Regions from separate parts of the Homo sapiens genome. Here region 2 is linked to region 1. The links are contacts of gene promoters, found by promoter capture Hi-C in human tissues and cell types (Jung and others, 2019). All regions are on one chromosome and are shown on one strand. The core of a region is centred on a gene start or on the middle of the fragment in contact, and the rest is flanking DNA. Distances in the headings are between cores, read along the strand shown.

Evidence for each region. The method cuts DNA at HindIII sites, captures the fragments that hold promoters and counts their contacts. A contact is called where the count stands out against the background at its distance.
Region 2: a fragment that was not itself captured here is called in contact with the fragment with the promoter of XPO7 in region 1 in 1 of the 25 tissues and cell types used here (dorsolateral prefrontal cortex).

What each region holds. Positions count from the first base shown.
Region 1 is chr8:21,915,972-21,921,706 of GRCh38, reverse strand. It overlaps XPO7 (exportin 7), which reads right to left and starts at 2,045. Exons shown (of 28, transcript NM_015024.5): 1 at 1,919-2,045. The coding sequence starts at 1,936. RefSeq lists a silencer at 1,689-2,128. The HindIII fragment of the contact is 7,284 bases long and covers 1-4,474 here.
Region 2 is chr8:20,256,553-20,261,666 of GRCh38, reverse strand. The region is part of intron 1 of LZTS1 (leucine zipper tumor suppressor 1); the gene reads left to right. Among named protein-coding and RNA genes, the nearest start is that of LZTS1-AS1, 17 kb to the left of the region's middle. The HindIII fragment of the contact is 3,047 bases long and covers 1,115-4,161 here.

The DNA of each region.
Region 1 (5,735 bases), core at 796-3,295:
GAAAAGTTAATAAATTCTTACTTCCGTAGATTTTTGAGTGGTGAGTGGGAGAACAACATCTTACTAAAAATAAGACAGACCTTCGTTGGAGCGACAAATGCTGTGAAGATTGCTTTGATGCATCCTGACTTTCACAGGAATGACAACCTTTATGCTTCGAAAATGTGGGAGATCACATTAAGAGATATTTCTTTACGGGAAACAGCAAATAGCACGATGTATATTCATAAAAGTACTGACTCCCTCTGCATTCCGAAGCATGGTTCACAAAGGCTATCTATTCAAAGCCTGTTCTAGAATGCTCATAGACATCCCCCCAACCCCCAGTAAGGAAGCGCACTGGACCCAAACTCCAAAGACTTTGGGACACTTAGACTTACCTTAACCAAATCTCATTATCATTCTTGTGCTTTGGTTTTTGTTCCTTTAAATGACAGAAGTAATTCCTGCCTGAGTCTTGTAAGATCCAAGAATTTTTAAAAATCACATAAAATATTTCATGCTTCTTAGAAATGACTGCTATAAAACGCAAGGTGCTATACTATTATTATTATCATTATTATCATCTCCTTGTATCAACTTTTACTGTCACTTCTGAATTAAGCCAAGGTACTGGCTTTGAAACACAAATCCCGTGGTTTTCCACCTGTGATTACGTTTCTTGCTATAATTCTGTCCTGACAACTTGTCCCGCACACTCCGAAGATCTACTTTACTGATCTCTGGCCTGAAAATTAAGTCTTTTATTTAGTCCCTTCTCTCCAAAGAAAGGGGCAGAAGTCACACCACTCCAGATTCTTGTAGACGTATTAAGAATGAGATCATTCTTCTTACTTGAGGAATGATGCCACAGAATATAAAGGCGACACTTCTTGCCCTCTAATCTTTCCTTGCCACAACACAAAACCTGTGCACTTGGTTACCTAGAAAATTGGAAGGTTCCCCACAATGGATGTGCATCAATAACTGTCATAAAAATATCAGATCTCTGGCACAGACAGGAAAAACTTTATCTAGTTTGCAAGAAATTAAACCCTGCAGTCCTCCATCTGCTACTGGGTTTGGTATGGGCTGTCCCTTTCTAGGGCCTGTGCCTGTCTTTGAGGAGAGTGGCCTGGCCCCACAGCACGCTAGGAGCAGCTCTTGAGCCGGATCAAGACCCTCCCGAGCAACGTCTGCACCCAACCCTGCATCTCTCATTTCAGACACACCCCCCTCCACCCCGTGTTTCATAGGAGGTGTGGGCGCTCAACTCCTTCACTGTGGCTAGGGGGACGCGAGGGGAGGCGGGCCGAGGCCTGAGCACCCATTTTGGAAGACCGGGGAGCTCGGCCCTCCGGGCTGTACGATTTGGAGTGTCGGAGGGAAGGGCGCATCCGTGGGAGGGGGAAGGAGGCCGGGGTTGCTGGGGGGTCTCTCGTATTCCGGGGCGTGAGAGGAAGGCGGCGGGAAAGACTCCGGAGAGCGAGGTTTATCAGCGCGAGGTTTCCTTTTTGTTATCTGCTGAGGGATGGCGGGCGTCATGGGGGCGTCCCCCTCAGTAAAGTCAGCAAGGGGGTCCCCCTCGCTTCACCGGGGGGCGGGCGGGGGGGCCCGAGGACTTGACGGAGGCCTCCCCCGGGGACGAAGACAGTGACTGACGAACGTTGTGGGCTGCGCGCGCCGGGATGCCCGTTCCTGTCCCTGCAGCCCCGCGCGCGAGGTGTGGGACCGGGTGGGAGGGGACGGAGAAGGCCCCCGGCCCGGGAGGCGGGAAAGGCCCCGGGGCTCCGGGACGGGCGGCGGCTCCAGAGCCCCGAGTGGCGGCGGCGCGGGCCTGCCGAGTCCCGAGCCGGCTGGCGCCCTGTGGGCCGTGTGCACCCCCGACTCCACTCGCCGCTCTTCGTGGTCGCCCCCTCCCCCCCGCGGCTCCTCTCACCTGCACATGATCCGCCATTTTGCTCCATTCATGCTCCTCTCCGGCCCCCCCTCCCCCCCAGCGCGCACCTCGGCCGGAGCCGCTGCCGCCGCCGCCGCCGACGCCGTCGCCGCTGCGCCTGCGCGCTGGGGACTCGTCGCGCTGCGCTCGTGGCGTAGCGCCGCTCAGCTGCGCAGGCCCCGGCGGCCCGGGCCGTGGTTGGAGAATGCGCAGCACCGCTGGGACGGCGTAAAGGCGCGGGCAACGTCAGCGGCCCGGAGACGCCGGGTGGGAGGAAGGAGCGGGCCGGGGGAGCGCGAAGGAGGGGCAGCTGGGGGAACAAAGCTTTGTTTACATGGTTTTTAAAGGGGCCGCGCTCGCTCCGGCAGGCGGGCGCTGGAGTGGGAGTTGGCGCTGCCTTCTGCTCGTTTGCGTGGTGAGGGCTCCTGGATGGGGGCCGAGGTCTGTCGCCGCCCCGGGACCCCTGCACCCAGTGGCTTCCTCTCTTCCCAACCGTCTTCCCCCTTGACTCGCCCCTGGACGTCTCCCACCCCCACCCCCACCCCACCCTGCAGCTACGGGGACCCCCCACACCCCACCTAGGCTGCCTGCGAGATTCCTTACTTTCCAATGCCCTCTACTCAACGGGGGCCGATTCTGTGCTTGTGTCTGTCTAGCTTTCTGGACCAGGGCCATCGCTCTCTGGTCTGGATTTCACCAGCAACCCCAGTGGTTGATCTCGTGTTTTTCATTTCTGTCCTTTCGTCCTTGATAAACATTCATGGAAATAACCACCGAATGGTGGTGATGATCAAAACATACGAAGGCACAGTTCTGGCTTCCCAAAGACATTGTCCTCGTTGCCAATACTCTAGACTGCCTCCCGAGAGGGTCAGATGCTGGAAGAGGCAGCGGGGCTGGTGGTTAGGACCCCTAGGCTCGGTCTTGTGGAGGTATGAGTGGGAAAGCCATCTCTCTGGGTCAGATAAGGTCAGCCCCTGCATGCTGAGGCCAATTCCAGTCTTCCTCACTAGGAATTATCTGTTAGATAATGCCGGTTCCTGTTTTCCATTGGATTCCACTGTGGCTTCCTTTTAAGGCCCCCAGGTTAGATCATAGCTGGATTCTGAGAGCACTGATTGTTTGAAGTTTGTATTTACAGGGGACTACCATCATATGCAAATGATGGTGGTAGTGAATTACACACCCTTGGTGGATGTAGTGGACCGGTGCTCAGCATTCATTTCGACTTCCGTCCTCCTAGTAGGTCTTCCTGGTTTGCAGAGGTAGGGCACCTGGAAACTACATTACCCAAACTTCCTTGCAGCTAGGGTTCTGTATGCAAATTAGGCTCTGCCAATTAGGCTGACTCAGAGAAGATTTAAGAGGCAGAAGATTTAAGTGGCAGAGCTTTTGACTGTTAACTTCTAGCGAGCATAGACCTTTTCAGATGTTGGGTTTTTGTTTTTCCCCAAAACCTCCCAGCGTCCAATCATTAGCTCCGAGCGTATAAAGAGGCGGGGTGATGGGGTCAGTGGCTTTCTGAACCTGGCATCGGGCAATGAAATATTCTCAGAGTCACAATTGCAATGGAAATTCTTTGGATTCCCTACTGGACTGAATAGAGGTAACAGTTTCACAGTGGGCCAGGCCCAAATTTCTGTCCACCCTCCCTTCCCCCACCCCCGCACCCCAACCTCCCCGTGTTTCTCCCTGTGTCTTCCCTTCCTCAGTAAATGGTACCACCATTCATCCAGTTGCTCCTAATAAACACTCAGGAGTTGGTTCTTCAAGTCTTATCAGTCCCCAACATGCAAGTCACCTGCAAGTCCTGTTCAATCTATATCTAATATATACCCAATATGACCACTTCTCCATCCATCTCCACTGTTAACACCTTGGTCCAAGCCACCATTACCTTTCTCCTGTGCTCTGGTAATAGATTCCTAATTAGTTTCCCTGCTTCCTGTCTTGCCCCTTGATAACCCATTTTCCATATAGCTGGACGCTGCAGAACATTATTTTATTTATTTGTTATTTTTTGAGACAGAGTCTTGCTCTGTTGCCGAGGCTGGAGTGCAATGGCGCCATCTCTGCTCACTGCAACCTCCGCCTCCCTGGTTCAAGCGATTCTCTTGCCTTAGCCTCCCAAGTAGCTGAGATTACATGCGCCCACCACCATACCTGGCTAATTTTTGGATTTTTAGTAGAGACAGGGTTTCACCACGTTGGCCAAGCTGGTCTGGAACTGCTGACCTCAGGTTATCCACTCGCCTCTGCCTCCCAAAGTGCTGGGATTACAGGTGTGAGCCACTGCGCCTGGCCAGAACATTCCTTTAAAATCATAATTCAGATAATTTACACTCCTACTTAAAATCCTTAAGTGGCCTCATGTTGCATTTAGAATTCGAATCTTTGCTGTGGCTCAAGAGGTCGTATGAGCTGACCTCACTCTACCATGCCCCCTCTGGCTCAATGCTCTGTGGTCATTCTGGCCTTGCAGTTCTGCAAAGCCAGGATCTCCTGCCTCAGGGCCTTTGCACTTGCAGTAACTTCTGCCTGGATTGGTTTCCCTTCAGATCGTGAAATGGCTGGCTCACTCTCCTCATGGACTTTTCAGCTCACTTGTCACCTCTCAGAGAGCCTTTTCTCACCACCCTCTTGAAAGTTGTCCCCTGTGCCTATCACTATCACAGCATTGATCACTGTCCAAAACTACATATTATTACTCTTTCATTATCAGTCCCTCCAACTAAAAGCAGACATAGTATAAACAAGGATTCTGTCTATGTTGTATCCCTAGTACCTCTGCACAGAGTAGATGCTCAGTAAATAATTGTTGAGGCGGGGCATGGTGGCTCACACCTTTAATCCCAGCACTTTGGGAGGCTGAGGGGGGTGGATCACCTGAGGTCAGGAGTTTGAGAGCAGCCTGGCCAACATGGTGAAACCCCGTCTATACTAAAAATACAAAAAATTAGCCAGGCATGGTGGTGTGCGCCTGTAATCCCAGCTACTCAGGAGGCTGAGGCAGGAGAATGGCTGGAACCCAGGAGACGGAGGTTGCAGTGAGCCGAGATCGTGCCACTGCATTACAGCCTGGACAACAGAGTAAGACTCCATCTCAAAAAATAAATAAAAATAAATTTAAAAAACTGTTGAATGTATTAACTTCTTTATGTCTCATTCTAGGGTGCATGTGGGTTTCATATGAAGACATAAAGCATTCTAAATATTATGTCACTGTTAGGTAACATGTTATGTTATGTTATGTTATGTTATGTTATGTTATGTTATGTTATGTTATGTTATAGGCCCTTCCTCTCAGCGGGTTTCTAGAACTGGGTTCTCTCTTTCCTTAGTACTGAGAAAAGTGATAGACTTAATGGAGAAAGGGTGGGGGGCTACAAATGAAGCTCAAGAGACTGGCATTGTCCCCCTCCCACACCCCACAGTCAGGGACCACTGGGGGTGGAAGGGGCAGGGATGGGGTCCTTCAGAATACACGCTCACTAATTCTTTCGCTCAGTCCTTCACCCGTCTCAGGCCCACATCAGTTCTCTGCCTATCCTATACGTACTTACCTGTTGTGTGCCCAGAACTACCCCTTAGCTAGCTTCCCTACCTGCACATCATTTGAGGGTTACCTAATCCCCAAGCCGGCCCAAGGAGTCAGACACAGTCTCCTCTCCTCCTTCCTTTGTTGCCCCAAAGACAAGGTCCCAGCCCTCTTATGTTAGGATTGGGTTGCTAATCACTGCAGCAGAATAGTAATGAAAATTTCTTGGAGCTGTGGTTCCTGACTCCTGCTGAGAGAAACTGTTGTAAGGGACAGGAT
Region 2 (5,114 bases), core at 1,389-3,888, 1.7 Mb after region 1:
AAAGACACTTTGCAACTCCATGCCTCTCTCTCCACATTCCAGAAAGGGACCATCAGAGGCAGGTGTCACTTTGCCTTGAGCCTTGGTTTCCTTTGGGAGGGAGAATGCAGAAGGGGGCTGGGGATGGGGCAGCTCAGGTGCTCCCACTACTTTTGAGTAGAAGCCGCTCAAAAGTGAGGGCTTTCTGCAATATCCCGGGCCCCTCCCCGTCCTGGTGGAGCAGCCATCCACAGTGCAGGTGGGCTAGTGGAGGGGAGGTCATGTCAGGGAGGGGTGTGAGGGCTGGGACTGGTCCTGGGGCCAGATTCTGAGAAGGGTAGGCTGGATGGTCCCAGCTGCTTTGGGTTTCTTTTCTCTTTTTCTCTCTTCTCTTAAGGTCTAAAGTCCAACTCTAGCTGGATTCCTTCTGTAGGAGCTCACGTAGCATGCCATGTGGAGTGTGAGGCTCTGTGGTTCCTTTACCTTCTCTCCATCCTTCTTCCCTCCTCCTGTCCCCTTCCTGAATCCCCAACATCTATGTGATTTCTTATTTTCACCCCAAATACGTGCTCCCAGTCAGTAGGAATTTGTTTCCCAGAAATAAAAATGTGTCTGTTGACCCTGTCCTTATGGAGGGCAGAGACAGCAGGTTGGACGGGGGCAGGTGAGAAGATGGATTTGGGAACCAGGATGGAACACAGCCGAGTTTTGTGTAATGCTCTCTCCAAGTTGACAGTGAAACAAGTCTAGACACTTAAAGGTGATTAGCTTAGCTTCAAGTGGATCCCAAACTCTCCTCAAACTTCAAAGCTCCTCTGTGTGTCAAGACCTGGGGAGTGGCCAGCTGGGTATCGGGGCTAAGGGATAGGAATGCTCTCAGGAGGACTGGAGGTGGCCATTCTTCAGTCACCCCTCTCCTGGGCTCCTGGCATTGTCCATCTTCTACCTCTTGACCCTCTAGGATGCAGCACAGGGCTGCTGCCCAGGTGAATGACACAGCTTCTGAGTGCCTACAATCTTGTTGGCATTGGCCCAAAAGGGAAATGAAGCTCGGCTAGAGAAGTCTGCTTTTGATTCCTCCTCTAGGCTTCCTCTTCCCTAACCCAGGAAGCTCATTTTGCTATCTGGGACAGAAACCCTAACATCTCTGGGCCTCACCTACAGTCCCCAATTGCAGCGTGCGATTTTAGCATGGAGATTGTGGCATTTGGGCCTGGGTTCGAATCCCACCTCTGTCACTGGTCACTGAGTGGCCAGGGCCACGGCATCCCACCTTGTGAGTCTGTGCCTTAGCCTCCCTTTTTTTGTTCTAGGAGCTCTAGATACAAAAACCTTTACTCTCAGATTCTGGTAGAGATACACACAATAAACCCTAAATTTGCAGTGAGCTGAGATTATGCCACTGCACTCCAGCCTGGGTGACAGAGTGAGACTCTGTCTCAATTAAAAATCAATCAGTCAATCAATCATCAATAAAATAAGATATGACTGGGTGTGGTGGCTCACACCTGTAATCCCAGTGCTTTGGGAGGCCAAGGTGGGAGGATAGCTTGAGGTCAGGAGTTTAAGACCAGCATGGGCAACACAGCGAGACCCCTGTCTCTACAAAAGAATTATTTAATTAGCCAGGAGTAATGGTATGTGCCGTCATCCCATCTACTCTGGGGCTAAGGTGGGAAGATCACTTGAGCCCAGCAGCTGGAGGCTGCAGTGAGCTGTGATCACTGTTACCTACTGCAGTCCAGCTTGGATGACAGAATGAGACTCTGTTTCTAAAATTTAAAAATAAATAAAAAATAATAAGATTAGTACAGGTGAGAGCAAGCCTTACACAGGGAATAAACAGGTTGGTAGAAAGTAATCGGGGAGGGATGCAAGGGTTTCAAGATTAACTGGAGAAAGCCACCTTGCAGACATGAGACTCAAGTTGAGAACTAGAAAATGAGAAAGGCTGATGTATGTGAAGAGCCCAAGGAGGAGAATTCCAGGCAGGGGAAGCAGCAGCAAGTGCAGAGTCTCCTGGATGGGTCAAGACTTCGTATGTTCACCCACCAGGAAAGAGATGAGTGTGTCTGTCCCTGGGACATGGCGGGACAAGGTGAGGAGTCCGCATTGTACTCTAACACAGTGGGAAGACTGGAAGGGTTCCCATTAGGAAGTGCTATGACCTGGACGCTTCAGATGTGTCTGATGAACAGACTGGGGAAAGACATTGGGAGGCTCCTTCAAGGCCCAGGTGAGAGGAGATGGAGGTGAGAGGAGATGGATGAGAACCATAAACAGATTCATTTAGCACCGATGCACTGATACTGTCAATAGCCTCCAGCGGTGTCATAGGCTTGAAGGCAACACATATCGTGCACACATCTGTAGATCGCCTACTACATGCCAGGCCTTGTATTTTCCTTCTGTTTGTTTCGGCTCCCTAATGTTCCTATTTAATATTAATATTTTCAGTTTGTAAATGAAGAAACCTCAGAGAGATTGATTTTCAAATCAAACTCCTGCCGATGCCACAGCTGATGGTCTGGTCTGTACAGCCCTGCAGGTACAGCTGCTCGGCAATGTGTATTGCATGGCAAAAAAAGGAGGAGCTGAGCATATTGCGCAGAGCACGGGAGGGTCTTTTGGCCCAAAATGACACCCCTGCATGTGGACCAGAGTAGTATTTTCGCCCCATAGGAACTAGAGGTGTTAGCTAAGCTAGGGATGGATGACCTAGGGGGATGAAAACACATTTTGTCAGTGTCAAGTTTATATCAGCAGAGCCACCCTGTGCTCCTAAGTCACACCTCGCAGGAATGGGAGGCAGAAAGGTTGCATTTAGAAGGAAAGGATTAGCTCTGGAAAGTGAGTTTGGACATTGAGGCTCCCCAGATCCATAGGGATGATGGATGTTGGCAAGGACAATGGTCACAATATAAGTAACAGATACCGATAACACTGCCTAGCATTTATTGAGTGCCCACTATGTACTAAGTATTGAGTAAATGTTCCAGAGCTGTTATCTTATGGTGGTATTTCTTAAATTTCTCATAACGATCCTATGAGGTAGGCTGCTTCACTGTATTTCCTCGAGTATACAAAGCCATCAATTCAATAAAAGCTTTTCACATCAAAACATATTAAACTTACACAACGAAGTTTTGTTGTGTCATGCTTTTCCTAACAAAATATAGAACATATTCATAACATAACCTCTTTATTCTTCAGGATGATAACGCAAGTTTGAATCGAAGCCTAGATATTCAGAGTCACAGAGTCTCCATGCACAACTGCTAATTGTAAAAAATATATATATAATAAAATTAAAATTAAAAAACAGAGTCAGAAAGTTTCTGGCTCCCTTTCAGCTGTGCCCATGCAGTTCTCCATGTCCCACCTGGGATTTCTTTAGCCCCTTTAGGATGGATGGTATAATTTAGAGCTCAGCGAAGAACAGAGGCTCCTTCCACATCTCCTGTTTTATTAAACTTGTGGCTTTCCCCTTCTTAATTGGATATCTGTCTTTTGACTAAGAAATACTTCACAGTGCATGACAATCACCAACCTTTCCTAGCTTTGAAAATTGTGTGATCTAAACTTAGAGATTTGCCTGAATCTGCACATGTGCTGGCACTGACATCCCAATTTCTCCTGTCTGGTGACTGACAAGGTTGTTATTGTTTAAGCATTGATTATTAGATGCTATCCTATTACTTTAAAAAAAAAATGTGCCCAGTCCGGTGGCTCACGCCTATAATCCCGGCACTTTGGGAGGCCTAGGCAGGTGGATCACCTGAGGTCAGGAGTTCGAGACCAGCCTGGCCAACATGGGAAAACCCCATCTCTACTAAAAATACAAAGATTAGCCAGCCAGTCATGGTGGTGCTCACCTGTAATCCCAGCTATGTGGGAGACTGAGGTGGGAGAATCATTTGAACCCGCGAGGTGGAGGTTGCAGTGAGCCAAGATCATGCCACTGCACTCCAGCCTGGGCAACAGAGTGAGACTCTATCTCAAAAAAAAAAAAAAAAAAAGTTTAAGGGTGTCTTAGAATTAGTTTGTAACACTGAAGGTTAAAGATATTAAACAGTTTACCTTCCATGTCATAGCTGGCAGGTGATGTAACTAGAATGCACACCAAGTCGGCTGGGTACTTCTCAACATTAAGGCTGTAATGACTTTCTCCTTCTTTCTCTCTTGAATCTTCTCAATGAGGCCTTCCTTCCACCATTCCTCCAAAACTGCTCTTGTCAAGGTTACCAAAGATCTCCACATGGCCAAATGCATTGACTAATTCTCAATTGTTATCTTACTTTCAGCAGCACTTGACAACTTTTTTTTTTGAGACAGGAACTCAGTCTGTTGCCCAGGCTGGAGTGCAGTGGCGTGATCTCAGCTCACTGCAACCTCCGCCTCCTGGGTTCAAGCTATTCTCATGCCTCAGCTTCCTCAGTAGCTGGGACTACAGGTGCGTGCCACCATGCCCAATTTGCCTGGCTAATTTTTTATATTTTTAGTAGAGACGGGGTTCCACCATGTTAGCCAGGCTGGTTTCAAACCCTTGACCTCAAGTGATCTGCCCACCTTGGCCTCCCAAAGTGCTGGGATTACAGGCTTGAGCCATTGCGCCTGGCCATTTGACACCATTTTTAGGAAACAATTTCTTGACTTGGCTTTCTTAGGTCTTCTATATCGACATCACCCTGAAAACCTTCTCTGCTGCTCTTTTTCACTTCTCCTAACCTGCCTGACCTCCAGATGCCGAGTGCTCCATGTTAACCATCCTCAGGCCTCTCTTGTCTTTCTGCATCCGCTCTTTGGTGACCCCATCTAGTCTCATAGCCACTTCCACACTCCCAGCTCTGACAAGTGCATCTGCAGCTCCCAGCAGCTGCCCACTCACCCTCCTGCCTACTCTCCATCACTCCCTGGATGCCAAATAGGCTTTGCAAACTGAATGTCTTCAACCAAACTCCTCTCTTTGGCATTGTCCCTGACTCCTCTCTTTCGCTCACTCCCTACATCTGATCCTTTAGCAAGTCCTGTCAGCTCAACCTCAAAATTACATTGAAAACTGTTTTTTAGAGACAGGGTCTCACTGTGTTGCCCAGGCTGGTCTTGAACTCCTGGCCTCAAGTGATCCTCCTGCC